Linked DNA regions of Homo sapiens: all the other regions are linked to region 2. The links are contacts of gene promoters, found by promoter capture Hi-C in blood cells and fetal thymus (Javierre and others, 2016). All regions are on one chromosome and are shown on one strand. The core of a region is centred on a gene start or on the middle of the fragment in contact, and the rest is flanking DNA. Distances in the headings are between cores, read along the strand shown.

What was found. Contacts are between HindIII fragments. The CHiCAGO score rates a contact against its expected background, and 5 or more counts as called.
Region 1: a fragment that was not itself captured here is called in contact with the fragment with the promoter of FAM98B in region 2 in 5 of 17 cell types (total CD4 T cells, non-activated CD4 T cells, naive CD4 T cells and 2 more); the score reaches 5.8 in total CD4 T cells.
Region 3: a contact is called between a fragment that was not itself captured here and the fragment with the promoter of FAM98B in region 2, in 4 of 17 cell types (total B cells, non-activated CD4 T cells, naive CD4 T cells and 1 more). The highest score is 7.9, in total B cells.
Region 4: a contact is called between the fragment with the promoter of EMC7 here and the fragment with the promoter of FAM98B in region 2, in 1 of 17 cell types (non-activated CD4 T cells). The highest score is 5.3, in non-activated CD4 T cells.

The regions. Positions count from the first base shown.
Region 1 is chr15:34,978,820-34,982,061 of GRCh38, forward strand. ZNF770 (zinc finger protein 770) reads right to left here. Exons shown (of 3, transcript NM_014106.4): 3 at 1-3,242. The coding sequence ends at 2,540. Among named protein-coding and RNA genes, the nearest start is that of ZNF770, 7.8 kb to the right of the region's middle. The HindIII fragment of the contact is 3,691 bases long and covers 1-3,242 here.
Region 2 is chr15:38,452,492-38,455,828 of GRCh38, forward strand. It overlaps FAM98B (family with sequence similarity 98 member B), which reads left to right and starts at 1,636. Exons shown (of 8, transcript NM_173611.4): 1 at 1,636-1,741. The coding sequence starts at 1,671. RefSeq lists enhancers at 1,784-1,893, 1,954-2,053. The HindIII fragment of the contact is 3,660 bases long and covers 1-2,730 here.
Region 3 is chr15:34,222,292-34,225,662 of GRCh38, forward strand. EMC4 (ER membrane protein complex subunit 4) reads left to right here and starts at 2,725. Exons shown (of 5, transcript NM_016454.4): 1 at 2,725-2,909; 2 at 3,245-3,359. The coding sequence starts at 2,824. RefSeq lists an enhancer at 3,039-3,088. The HindIII fragment of the contact is 1,916 bases long and covers 305-2,220 here.
Region 4 is chr15:34,100,072-34,103,478 of GRCh38, forward strand. EMC7 (ER membrane protein complex subunit 7) reads right to left here and starts at 1,791. Exons shown (of 5, transcript NM_020154.3): 1 at 1,533-1,791. The coding sequence starts at 1,768. PGBD4 (piggyBac transposable element derived 4) reads left to right here and starts at 2,012. Exons shown (of 1, transcript NM_152595.5): 1 at 2,012-3,407. The coding sequence starts at 2,461. RefSeq lists enhancers at 935-1,792, 1,402-2,101, 2,132-2,221. The HindIII fragment of the contact is 6,792 bases long and covers 419-3,407 here.

The DNA of each region.
Region 1 (3,242 bases), core at 492-2,991, 3.5 Mb before region 2:
GTATACTCAAGTCCCTTACATAAAATGACATATTTGTATATAACCAACGCACATCCGCCTGTATACTTTATCCCTAGACTAATACCTAATGCAATGTAAATGCTATTTAAATAACTGTTATACTGTATTTTTATTTGTATTATTTTTATTTTTTCTAATATTTTTGATCTGCAATTGGTTTAATCCACAGATGCAGAGTACATGGATACAGAGGGCCAACTGTTTTGTTACAGGTACTTCAAATAGCACTACAGTACATCTTTGACAAAATTTTTACAATATTCCACCTTTCAATATGAAACAGCTTAAAAAGGCATGGGTCAAAAATAAAGTATAGTAGTATCACTTACGCAAATAAAGTCTCAGAATCATACAAGCACAACACTGTTAGGACTCTCCCTGTTTAGGCTGGGAAAAACATTATACAAAACATTTTCTTCAAATAAAATTACATAAATTGCTTAGAAAAATGCCAAAATCAATAATTTCAAACATATTAAGGAGAAAACCTTGAACATTATTGGAAAATATAAACTAGTTATTCCTTGCTTTTAACAGATGAGTTCTTGACAAGTTTTGTGTAAAGCAAATTCTGTAAACCATTATCTTGCTTGCACTGGAGGAACATATCTCAAGGAAACCTAAGAGAAAGTGTTCTTTAAAGCATGTGATTCTCCTGTTTTTGCTGGATGTCTGTATCTACATAATAAACAGGCACACTTCTACATCACTGGGTATTTTACTCAGACTGTCATGTTTCATCTCTGTAAATTAAACCCAAGTTACTTAAAAATCACCTGTGGTAAAAGAAGCAAGCAGATCACCCCCACCTACTATCCCTCCCGCCTCCCCCCTGTCAAAAGAAAGTTCTCAGTTTATGATGCAAAACTTACAATTGTTCATTTATCCACATTCTCAATAGAGGATTTTCCACTATATTTAAGTATGGCAGGATAATTACCCACCTGTTCCTCTTTTCAGCTTAGAAACATAACGGTTCATTCCTTTTATTGCTAGAGAATGTCATTCCTGAAGATTTTATAAACAAAGGCAAATATGAAGGAAAATTTGTAATTATGAAATAAGTCCTTTGTAGTAAAGAATATTTCCCAAATCATAACAGTTCTATTTGGAATGATACCCACAACTCTACAAGCATCTTATCCCTCTACAGGAATGACTACCTTATTAATTAAAATAAAAATTTAACAAGCATCAAAATAAAATTCTTTAGCAATAGACTCCTGCAAAAATAAAAACTAAAACTAGACCTAGTCATTGCCATTTGATCAAACTTAGAACAGGCTTAAATAACAGAACCACTCCATTAAAGAGGCATAGAAAGAAAAGTTTACTAAAATAAATGTAAAAGTCTTATGGAGATGAAGATCTCTAGAATAGTCTTAAGTCTATGACTACTGCTATCATTAATGAGCAAATAAATGACTTGAAATTATTCCTCTGAAAAGGTAAAACTCATACGTATTATGAAAAAGACTATGGCACTTAGAAAATATTCCTGGTAAGTAAACATGGTAAATATAGGTACATCCTAGCCTCTCGCCTACTTTTAAATTATTTTGAGAAAGATAGCACTAGCTGGGAGAAAAAAAAAATCCTTATCACCTGAAGGTGAAATTACCACATAGTCCTAAAAATAAATAGCTTTGAAAAGACCGTCGGGTGCGGTGGCTCATGCCTGTAATCCCAGCACTTTGGGAGGCCGATGCGGGTGAGTCACAAGGTCAAGAGATCGAGACCATCCTGGCCAACTTGGTGAACCCCCGTCTCTACTAAAAATACAAAAATTAGCCAGGCGTGATGGCAGGCACCTGTAATCCCAGCTACTCAGGAGGCTGAGGCAGGAGAATCGCTGGAATCTGGGATGCGGAGGTTGCAGTGAGCCTAGATGGCGCCACTGCACTCTAGCCTGGCGAAAGAGTGAGACTCCATCTCAAAAAAAAAGACCAATGAAAATAATACTATAATTGTCTCATCCATTTTCACCTTTAGTGTCTCTGTAGTTTTTTTAACTTACAAAAAAAAAAAAAAAATTACCAATGCAATTTGAGTCACATGTGGACAAAATTATGCTTTCATATGAAATGTAAAATAAATCAAATATAACAGGGCTATGTGCTGCAGCTAAAAGCCAAGTTTTGCCTCTCAGTCTTTTGAGTATATCTAAAAAGAGATGGCATGTCTTAAGGAATAATTCCTTTAAAAAATGAATGAGGCTAAATTATTTGTACAGCCATCATGGATTTATATTTTTCAATACAGCCAAAGTATATGTTTACAATATTAAAATGCCTACTTTATAGCATCAAATCATGTTCTTGCCTCTAAAATTAACTTGGCTGTTTCTAAAACATTGTATTAATTTTCTATGTATTCTACCTCCTTACTATGCAGGACAAGCAAATGCCTGTGAAACCATTCAGTTTAATGCAGGCCTTTCAATAAAAATGCATTTTAAATAATACAGGCTTTAAAAATAAGATCACCAGAGACCACAATTGTTAGTGGTTGCGACAATTTACATAACCGAATCTAAGGCAACCACTTTCCCTTGTGGTCGTTCTTTAAAGTGAGTAAGCTGATGTCTCTTCCAGTGAGGAGCCTGTCTGAATGTTTTGCCACAAACTGAGCATTCAAATGGTTTCTGCCCTGCATGAATTAGGTAGTGTCTTTCCAGTTTAGATGGAGATCGGAAACTTTTAGCACAAACACTGCATCGGTACAGGAAGACATCATTTTTCTCCTGATGCTCTGAATAACTGCAAAAAGGATTGCTTTGCTCTGATTCCAAAAGTACATTAGGAAGACAGGGTTGCCCGGTGCTACCAGGAATAAAATCCTGTGACTCTGCCTTAACTCCTGACATTTGATCTGACTCTGAGACCTCGTATTTTTGAACACCAGGAGCCTGACATTGTTGGGAAGCATTATAGTTAACATTATTACCTGAATGATTAGAAAGATTGTTGAAGTTTCCAAATTCTACTTGGCAAAGAGATGCATAAGGACTCTTTTCATTATGAGTCTGTTCATGTCTTTTTAAGTGAGCTGACTGTCTAAAAGATTTCCCACAAATATTACAGCCAAAGGGCCTCTGTCCAGTATGAATTAAATAGTGTCTTTTTAGTTTGGATATAGAAGGAAATACCTTCTCACATTTGTCACAAGGACATATCTTATGTCTAGTACGTATGTTTTCCCTTGGAACTGAAAAACCACAC
Region 2 (3,337 bases), core at 386-2,885:
CATGTTAAATTATAATCCCCAATGTTGGAGGAGGGACCTGGTGGGAGGTGATTGGATCATGAGGGCAGAGTTCTCTTGAATGGTTTGACACCATTCCTGCCTTGGCACTGTATAGTGAGTGAGTTTATCATGAGATCTGGTTTTTTAAAAGTGTGTGGCAGATCACGAGGTCAGGAGTTCGAGACCAGCCTGACCAACCTGGTGAAACCCCGTCTCTACTAAAAATACAAAAATTAGCCGGGTGTGGTGGTGGGCGCCTGTAATCCCAGCTACTCGGGAGGCTGAGGCAGGAGAATCGCGTGAACCCGGGAGGCGGAGTTTGCAGTGAGCTGAGATCATGCCACTGCACTCTAGCCTGGGCGACAGTGCGAGACTGAAAAAAAAAAAAAAAGTGTGTGGCACCTCCCTGCCTCCCTGCACCCTCTCTCTTCCTCTTACTCCGGCCACGTGATAGCTGCACTCCCCCTTCCCCTTCTGCCACAACTGTCCATTTCCTGAGGCCTCCCCAGGAGTGGAGCAGATGCCAGCATCATGCTTCGTGTACAGCCTGTGGAACCATGAGCCAATTAAACCCCTTTTCTTTATAAATTACCCAGTCTCAGGTATATCTTTATAGCAATATGAGAGTGGACTACTACAGCTTACCTTTGAGTGTTTTACACATTTATGGGTATGCTTTTTGTTTGTAACCATAATTAGGAAGGCGAGAGCATTACTGGTCTTTATTGGACTGGGGCTACGAATGCTATGTAGTCTGCAATGGAAGGGACAGGTCCATACAAGGGATCAATAGTTATACTTCATGCAGGATTTCCAACAGTTCTGCTAGAGTATTCATGTAGGTGACATGCCTGCTAATAATGATCTAACCTTATACTCTTAGTACCTTTTACATATGAACCCTAAAATACATTTTTTAAATCCTTTAGATAAGAGATTGAATTCTTCATGGATAGTACACAGAGGGTATATTATGTTTTGTTTGTTTGGAACTTTACAGAGAATTCGCCACAATTTTGGAAAACCACATCAACTACCTTACTTTGCTGGCGGTATGTTTGTTGCTTATACAACTAATGCTTTGTCAGCAATGAAGCACATCATCTGAATATGCAGTTGAGGGGATTCTACATAGATAGATGCAAGCATCTGATCACTTCATTGGTCTTCCGCATTTCATAAGGAGAAAAATATTACCTTGTTATAAATTACTTCATTTTTTCCTTCAAGTTGAAGCATCGTCGTGTATATTGATTTAAAAATTATATGTGTAGGCATGTGATATTAGTTACTAATTTTAGCTGAAGATAATTATAATTTTATTTCAGATTTCTGTTATTAAAAAGGTCTGGAATCGGATAGGTTGAGATCAACCCGATACCACGATATTTGCTAAAATTTATTTGAACACACAGAAAAGTCCCAACACAGAGAACTCTTTATTACTATTATTTATTATTTCTACTATTCTTTTAAAAAATTATTATCGTTACACGCAGCGGTTTTAGGCACTATGAAGTGTTTATTGCCTCGGGGCTGGGAACCTTTGCGCCCTTCTTCAGCTGTGCTCTCAGGCAGTTACCGGCCAGACCCGGACCGGAACCTTGGCGCGGTGACGCTAGTTTCCGGCGGGCTACTTAGAGCGCCGAACAGCTCTGGGCCAAAGGACCATGAGAGGGCCGGAGCCGGGTCCCCAACCGACGATGGAGGGAGACGTGCTGGACACACTGGAGGCGCTGGGGTGAGTGCTTTTGGAGACGCCTTTTCCCTGAAAACGCAACCTCTCCTTGGCCTGGCTGCTTAGCCTACTTCCCTTGGGCCTCTGTGGGCCTGGGCGGCCATGTGTAGGCCTCCTTCCCTGCCTCGATCCCTCCGGCGCCGACGGAGTTAAGCGGGAGGCGGGAGAGAAATCTATTTGGGGGGTGGAGCAGGGCCGGAGAGCTGGGGTTCGTGGCCCCCTCTTCGAAACTTCTTGCCTCGAAACTCTGTTGCAGGAATCCGCCGGGTGGCGCGGAGCGGCCCTTCTAGCACCGGTTTTCTGGGCTAGCTCGCGCCCGCAGGTGATATTTGTGTTGACGTAGTTCTGGCGCCCGGAGGGAGGTGCTGGAACCTGAGCTGCTGTTGAGGACTGTTGTCTCCTACAATGTACAACTTGTGGCTTACTTGGGGCTCTGGAGCGAATGGCTTTTACTTTGACCGGAGAAAGTGTTGTAGTTCATTGCGAGTTCGTTCTTTCAACCATTTCGTCCGTTCGTCAACGTGTATATTAGCTTGTATATTAATTTACACATATTTACGTTTGTAAATTTCCCCTAGGCAAGGGAAAAGGATAGTTTTTCAGATTACTCTTGGCTTACATAGTCGCGCAGGCTGCAAGTCTGCTGCCGGCTGGTATTTACAGTGCAGAATGGTAAGTGCTGTGAGAACTCAGGGTGGAGGTGGGAGTAATGTTAATACTTAACAAGTGTGGTGGTTCGTAATCTCCCCCTCAACCTCATCCTGTTTTTTTCCACACAGCTCTTGTCCCCATCCCAAATTATCATGTCCTGCCCATTCATTTGTCTCTTGAACTCTGCTTCTCCCTCGTTTTATTCCTCCTCCTCCCCAAGTCAGCTCCTGGAAAACTGATGCTTTGCATATTTTATTCACCGATGTTTTCCCAGCAACACACTAGAACGGAGTCTTTTACAGTAAATAGTGGTTGAATGAATGAGTAAATGAATGAAGAAAAGCTTAGAGAAGAGTCCACAGCAGTAAGCATAGGACCAGATAGTTGAGTCATACAGTGCACATTAAATAAAGAGCTTGGAGCCATCTGCACATTTGTTTGCCCTGCTACGTGCTGCTGTTTCTTGATAGGGGAAGCTGTGCCTTTGCAGCGTTATTATGAAGCTTGAACCAATCCCACACCCCACTTTATCTTCTCTAAAACTGCATTTGCCCCTCTATCAATTGTTTCTTTAGTTGAACCCTGATAATACCTACTTTGCAGTGACCCAGGGTTACGGAGTCTTGCACTTAGTAGATCGTGAATACATATTTGTCAAACGAAAGAACAGTGCCATTGATTATTTAGGGGGCATTTTTACTTCTGTGAAGTCCCTTGGAAGTTCTCACTTAACTTGGTTAAGAAGGAACCAAAACAAGAACTGAAAATACTTAGTAGAATTATTTAGGCTCCAAACAGTTTGAGCTCCCAAGTACTTCAGGTAAGAATATTGGGAACTCATAAATGGTTTATGAAAAAGGAAAAGGCAGTGCTTTTCTTCTTTCTTCATTTCTTGAACTTATTGTTCATATTATAAGTGTTTTAGAAAATTCATTGCTATAATCTTGA
Region 3 (3,371 bases), core at 13-2,512, 4.2 Mb before region 2:
AATAGAATGTATATCCATTTTTATGTTTTATTTTGCACAAGTGTAGTTATAGTACATTCACATCTTGGTGTTTGTTTACTTTCAATTTAATTTACTCACATTCGCTAAACATTTATTCAGTACTTTCTATGTTCTAGGCAACAGGCTCAAAGATAATATATAGCTTCTGACCTGGGGGGATTTAGGGTTGCCTATAGAGGGGTAGAAATAAGTGCTCAGGGGACTTTAACAAACAAAATGCAATGTGGTAAGTGCTATTATGCAGCATATAATGCAACAAAGAAGAATGCCCAATAGGGTCAGAAGCTTGAGATAAATATAAGGTTCATGAGACAGAACGTGGTAAAGACAAAAAGTAGAAAGGAGCAGAAACACAATCTATAGTTAGGTCTTCCTACAATCAGATAGATACACATTTTAGGATGGATTGGAGAGGCAAAAGACTTCCATTTCTGCCTTGTTTAAGTAGTCTGCTATGAACACATATTTTTAAAATCAGAAAATAAAGTGGAGGTGGCAATCTTCAGCCTCTCTTACATCATCATCATCTTCAAGAGTCCCAACTTTTTTGTTGGCCAAGGAAGCCTTTTTCAACCTTACCTCCCACAGCATCTCCTTCCCCCTAACTCCAGCCATATCGAATAACTTGGAGTCAAAGAAATACAAATTAAAAAATAATACAGTACCATTTCAAACTATTAAAAAAATTATAGACTGTGAAATGTAAATGGTGCCATTTTTCCTAGTGGACATTTTAATTTTTTTTGTTGTTGTTTGCAGAGGCAAGGTCTCACTATGTTGCCTAGGCTGGTCTTGAACTTCTGAGCTAAAGCAATCCTCCTGCCTCAGCCTCCCAAAGTTCTGGGATGACAGGTGTGAGCCACCACGCCTGGCTCCTGTGGGCATTTAAAATGAAAATTCTTTAAAAATGTGCATACTCTTTGATCCAGCAACTCCAATTTCACTTCTAGGACTATAACTTTAGGAAATAAGAAAAGACATACAGATATGTTCACAGCAACACTGGTTATAAAAGGAAGGAAAACAGGAAACAATTTAAATGTCCAATAATAGGCTATATTATGAAAAAGGTATACCATACAAAACCCAATCACTTTAAAGAATGACATACATTATTTAATGACACGTCATTAAAAACACATCAATGGTGTTATTTGGTAATGATGTGATACATCATTAAAAACACCACATAACCTAGCACTTTGGGAGGCCGAGGCAGGCAGATCACCTGAGGTCGGGAGTTCGAAACCAGCCTGACCAACACGGTGAAATCCCATCTCTACTAAAAATACAAAATTAGCTGGACGTGGTGGCGTGCGCCTGTAATCCCTGGTACTCGGGAGGCTGAGGCAGGAGAATTGCTTGAACCCGGGAGACGGAGGTTGCAGTGAGCCGAGATAGTGCCATTGCACTCCAGCCTGGGCAACAAAAGCAAAACTCCGTCTCGAACAAAAACACAAACAAACCAAACACCAGATATGTGGTGGGCACTAATCTCACAAGCCTTGAAAGTAGGTAGATTATCCAACTTTTACATGAAGAGGCTGAAACAAATTCAACTTGCCCAAGGTCATACAATTATTAAGTGGTGAAACCAGGATTCAAAAGGAGGCCATCTGCTGGGTGCAGTGGCCCATGCCTTTGTAATCTCAACATTTTGGGAGGCCAAGGCAGGAGAATCACTTGAACCCAAGAGTTTGAGAGCAGCCTGAGCAACATAGCGAAACCCTGTCAAAACAAAACAAAACAAAACAAAACAAGACTGGGGCGTGGTGGCGCGCCCTGTGGTCCTAGCTCCTCGGAACGCTCAGGTTGGAAGGAACGCTCAGGTGGGAAGATCGCTTGAGCCGGGGAAGTCGAGGCTGCAGTGAGCCGTGATAGCGCCACTGCACTACAGCCTCGGCAACGGAGTGAAACCCTGTCTCAAAAAACAAACCCAAAACAAACAACAACAAACGCAGGCTAACTGAATACCGAGCCCATGTCCCCTTCCATGCCCACAATGCTGCCTTGCCTTTGTGCAGAATGTGGTTAGAACTGTTTACCTCGCAAGGTTACTGTGCAAGTGAAATGAAATAAACACATGACACAGTGGACATTCAATACTCAGAAACTACTAAGTAACTCGCTCAAGGTCAAGCTAGGATTTAAACCCAGGATTTGAATCTTTTGTTCCAGGGAGCGCGTAGGAGGTTAAGAAGCTTTTCTTGGCTTCCTTTTTTTTTTTTTTGAGACAGAGTTTCGCTCTTGCTGCCCAGGCTGGCGTGCAATCGCTCGGTCTCAGTTCACTGCAACCTCCGGCTCCCGGATCCAAGCGATTCTCCTGCCTCAGCCTCCTAAGTAGCTGGGATTACAGGCGCCCGCCACTAAGCCCGGCTAATATTTTGTATTTTTAGTAGAGACGGGGTTTCACCATGTTAGCCAGGCTGGTCTCGAACTCCTGACTTCAGGTGATCCGCCCACCAATTCTTAACGCTGAGTCAGTATGGGCTTTCCTTCAGCCCCATAAAGTGCACCTCAGAGGTCAGGGAACACATAACAAGGACATTCAAAAGGGGAGCGCGCGGAAGTGGCTTTAGGAAGCACTAAGTCTTGCCTGGTTTTTTTTCCTCCCTGCTTTTCTAAATCCAAACCCGGACTCCTCAACCCACAGCACCACCAATTTCCAGGGCGGAAATGACGTCGTATTCACGCGCCGGAAGTGCATTTGCAGAGTGAGACAAAGCGGAGAACGCTGGTGGGCCTGTTGTGGAGTACGCTTTGGACTGAGAAGCATCGAGGCTATAGGACGCAGCTGTTGCCATGACGGCCCAGGGGGGCCTGGTGGCTAACCGAGGCCGGCGCTTCAAGTGGGCCATTGAGCTAAGCGGGCCTGGAGGAGGCAGCAGGTGAGGCACCTGGGCAAGCTGTACATCACTGTTCATCCCAGAACTGCACCAGAGTAATGAGACCTGAGCCCTCAGGCATAACTCTGAAAAAGATGGGTGGCACACAGACATCACCTGGGGAGGTAGCGGCTTTTCTGCCGTGGAAGTTTCTCTGCTCAAACAATGCTTACATCAGTCCTCCTGATAAGTCAAAGGACTGAGGAACATACGAGGGGGCTTGGTCTAATCTGAGTAGGTGCATCTGAAGATCTTTATTCCTATGATTGGTAGATCAGGAAATGTGGGATAAGAAGTATCGGAGGTTGCAGCTTTAGTTTCTTGGTTTGGTTTTTTAGGGGTCGAAGTGACCGGGGCAGTGGCCAGGGAGACTCGCTCTACCCAGTCGGTTACTTGGACAAGCAAGTGCCTGATACCAGCGTGCAAGAGACAGACCGGATCCTGGTGGAGAAGGTACAGAGGTAT
Region 4 (3,407 bases), core at 541-3,040, 4.4 Mb before region 2:
GGCTCACGCCTATAATCCCAAAAATGTGACAGGCTGAGGCAGAAATATCACTTGAGGCCAGGAGTTTGAGACCACACTGGGCAACATAGCAAGACCCTGTCTCTACAAAAAATTAAAAAATTAGCTGGACATGATGGTGTCCGCCTGTAGTCCTATCTACTGAGGAGGCTGAGACAGGAGGATCACTTGAGTACAGAAGTTCGAAGCTGCCATGAACTATGATCTCGCCACTGCACTCCAGGCTGAGTAACAGAAAAAGACCTTGTCTCAAAAAAATAAAAAGAAAGATACAATGAAACATTAAGGGTTGTTTTCCTACTTTGTTTCTAATATACTATTTTTAAACAGAAATTAAATGCTTTTTAAAAGAACTGTATACAGAAGAGTGGCCAAATGGTCAATTAAGGCTTATTCCTAAAGCTTAATGAGAACTTTATCATTAAAACATCATTAATTAGGGTAAACTCTAACGAATGCCCTAATGCCAGATTCTTAATGACAGACAGCAGTAAAATACTGGTTGTAAATTTGTCACTATTTATTAATCTGAGGTTGAATAACCACTCAAGGGCACTTAGATGATCTGAACAAATATGTAAATCAGATTTGGATTTAAATGTCTACATTTAAGTTGTCTGATTTTCAGATACCATTTGCTGGTGTACGAACCCACCAAAGGAAATACTTCCTAATTATTTGCTTTCAGTTTACAGTTTCACCTCCAAGTAAGGGTGGAAAGATTTAAAACAACATACGCGTGCCTAGACATTTCAAAAGCAGGCTGCTGCAAAACTAGTGCTAACAAATTCATCCTGTCTTTTAATATAGACAGAAAACCCACTTCCACTAATAGCATGAAAGGACAGAAGCAAGAAAGCAATGTAGAGGAACCCTAGTCTCACATAAATGACAAGTGTGATATAGCAAATCTCTCGATGAATTCAACTGTAAAAAAGAACAACGATCCCACCCCCAAGCAAAAAAAAAAAGAAAAAAAAAGTGCTTTGATTAGGGATTTCAGAGCCTATTAATTTTAGAAGCAGTAACATTAGCCTCCCAGTCTATGTCGTCACTAGAAGCCCTTTGGGTTTTGAGAATTCCCACTTGTGTCGCATCTTTCTACATAATAACAAGCTACCAAAAGACTGAAGTGAATGCAAAAAACGACTAGGTTCTAGGGAAACCAGATGAGATATAAAAGAATCCAACAAGAGACTAATAAGGGTCCACCTGTCCCCAGGGCCCAGGAATGATCGTCCCCACATGGGGCCAAAATAAGGTTGGAAATAACTGACTCCATGCTCTGACCATGGCAGGGGGTGAGCGCCTGCCATGCTCATTCCAGAGGTACAGGACCAGGAAAGGGAAAGCATCCGACTGCCTCCCAAGGTCTCCCGGCATAGACCGTTAGCGGCACCCTCCCCTTCAGTCTGAGACAGCGACGTTGTCCCGTCCTGACACTTAACTCTCCTGGTGGGGTCCCTGTCCGGCCTCCATCCCAGCCTTTTTCCCGCTGCCCTCAGGATGCTCACTTAAGGAAACCGACGTGCTCTTCTCCGTCTACCAGCACTCGGGCCGCCGAGATCCAGTCCTGAGGCTTCACCCCTGGAACAACTGCACGCCCCTCAATCTTGAAGCGATCTCCTATGCCGACCCCACTCCCTCCCGATCCCTCAGCAGCAGCCCCGGGCACCTCCGAGCTCTGGACATCCCCCGATAGCAGCAGCAGCAGCAGGACGGGAAAGAAGCCCCACAGAGCGGCCGCCATGACAGCAGCTCTGCACTCAGACCGGCAGCCCCGGAAGCCCTCCCAGTCTCCCGGCCGCCACCGCCGCCGCTGGCGGCTTGATGTTGTCATCACTGCGCGCCCGTTTCTGTCATAAGCTGTGGGATCCAACCAGAGGGAAGAGATCATGGCCGATCGACTAGCGAGGCGGAAGTAAGGCGGAAGTACTGCCCTTAACTCCCGGCACTCTGGATTGGAAGACGGCGCACAGAGCCTGTGTCAAGTGCCTATGAAGGGGACTGCCCATGAAGTGAAAGTCAAGTGTGTGTTGCTGCGGCAGCCACGGAGGCCAAGGACCTCACGGGAGTAAAAGATGACGAGACTGGCTTCGGGAGAAACACCATCCAGAAGAGACCTTTCAAAAAACTTCTAGAGACTCCCCAAGACGTATGAGATGAAAGGCTTCTTCTGTCTGTGTGCGTTTAACTCATTTCTCCTTAGCCCCGAGATTACGCGCTGCTGTGCCTGCGACTGCAGCGTTTACGCCGAGATAACTCGTGGATTACAGTGCCAACCTTACTCCCAAAGTTTGCCACGAAATATCTCGCTTCTGTTATTTTCGCATGGTTCTGGTATATTGACTTTTGAAACAAAAGACATCATTCTGTTTATAGCATTCTGTTTTTAGTAGTGGGATTTCCATCTACAAAATATAGTAATTCTCGATCGCTGAAATGTCAAATCCTAGAAAACGTAGCATTCCTATGCGTGATAGTAATACCGGTCTCGAACAGTTGTTGGCTGAAGATTCATTTGATGAATCTGATTTTTCGGAAATAGATGATTCTGATAATTTTTCGGATAGTGCTTTAGAAGCCGATAAGATCAGGCCTCTGTCCCATTTAGAATCTGATGGAAAGAGCTCTACATCAAGTGACTCAGGGCGCTCCATGAAATGGTCAGCTCGTGCTATGATTCCACGTCAAAGGTATGACTTTACCGGCACACCTGGCAGAAAAGTCGATGTCAGTGATATCACTGACCCATTGCAGTATTTTGAACTGTTCTTTACTGAGGAATTAGTTTCAAAAATTACTAGAGAAACAAATGCCCAAGCTGCCTTGTTGGCTTCAAAGCCACCGGGTCCGAAAGGATTTTCGCGAATGGATAAATGGAAAGACACTGACAATGACGAGCTCAAAGTCTTTTTTGCAGTAATGTTACTGCAAGGTATTGTGCAGAAACCTGAGCTGGAGATGTTTTGGTCAACAAGGCCTCTTTTGGATACACCTTATCTCAGGCAAATTATGACTGGTGAAAGATTTTTACTTTTGTTTCGGTGCCTGCATTTTGTCAACAATTCTTCTATATCTGCTGGTCAATCAAAGGCCCAGATTTCATTGCAGAAGATCAAACCTGTGTTCGACTTTCTTGTAAATAAATTTTCCACTGTATATACTCCAAACAGAAACATTGCAGTTGATGAATCACTGATGCTGTTCAAGGGGCCATTAGCTATGAAGCAGTACCTCCCGACAAAACGAGTACGATTTGGTCTGAAGCTATATGTACTTTGTGAAAGTCAGTCTGGTTATGTGTGGAATGCGCTTGTTCACACAGGGCCTGGCATGAATTTGAAAGATTCAGCGGATGGCCTGAAATCATCACGCATTGTTCTTAC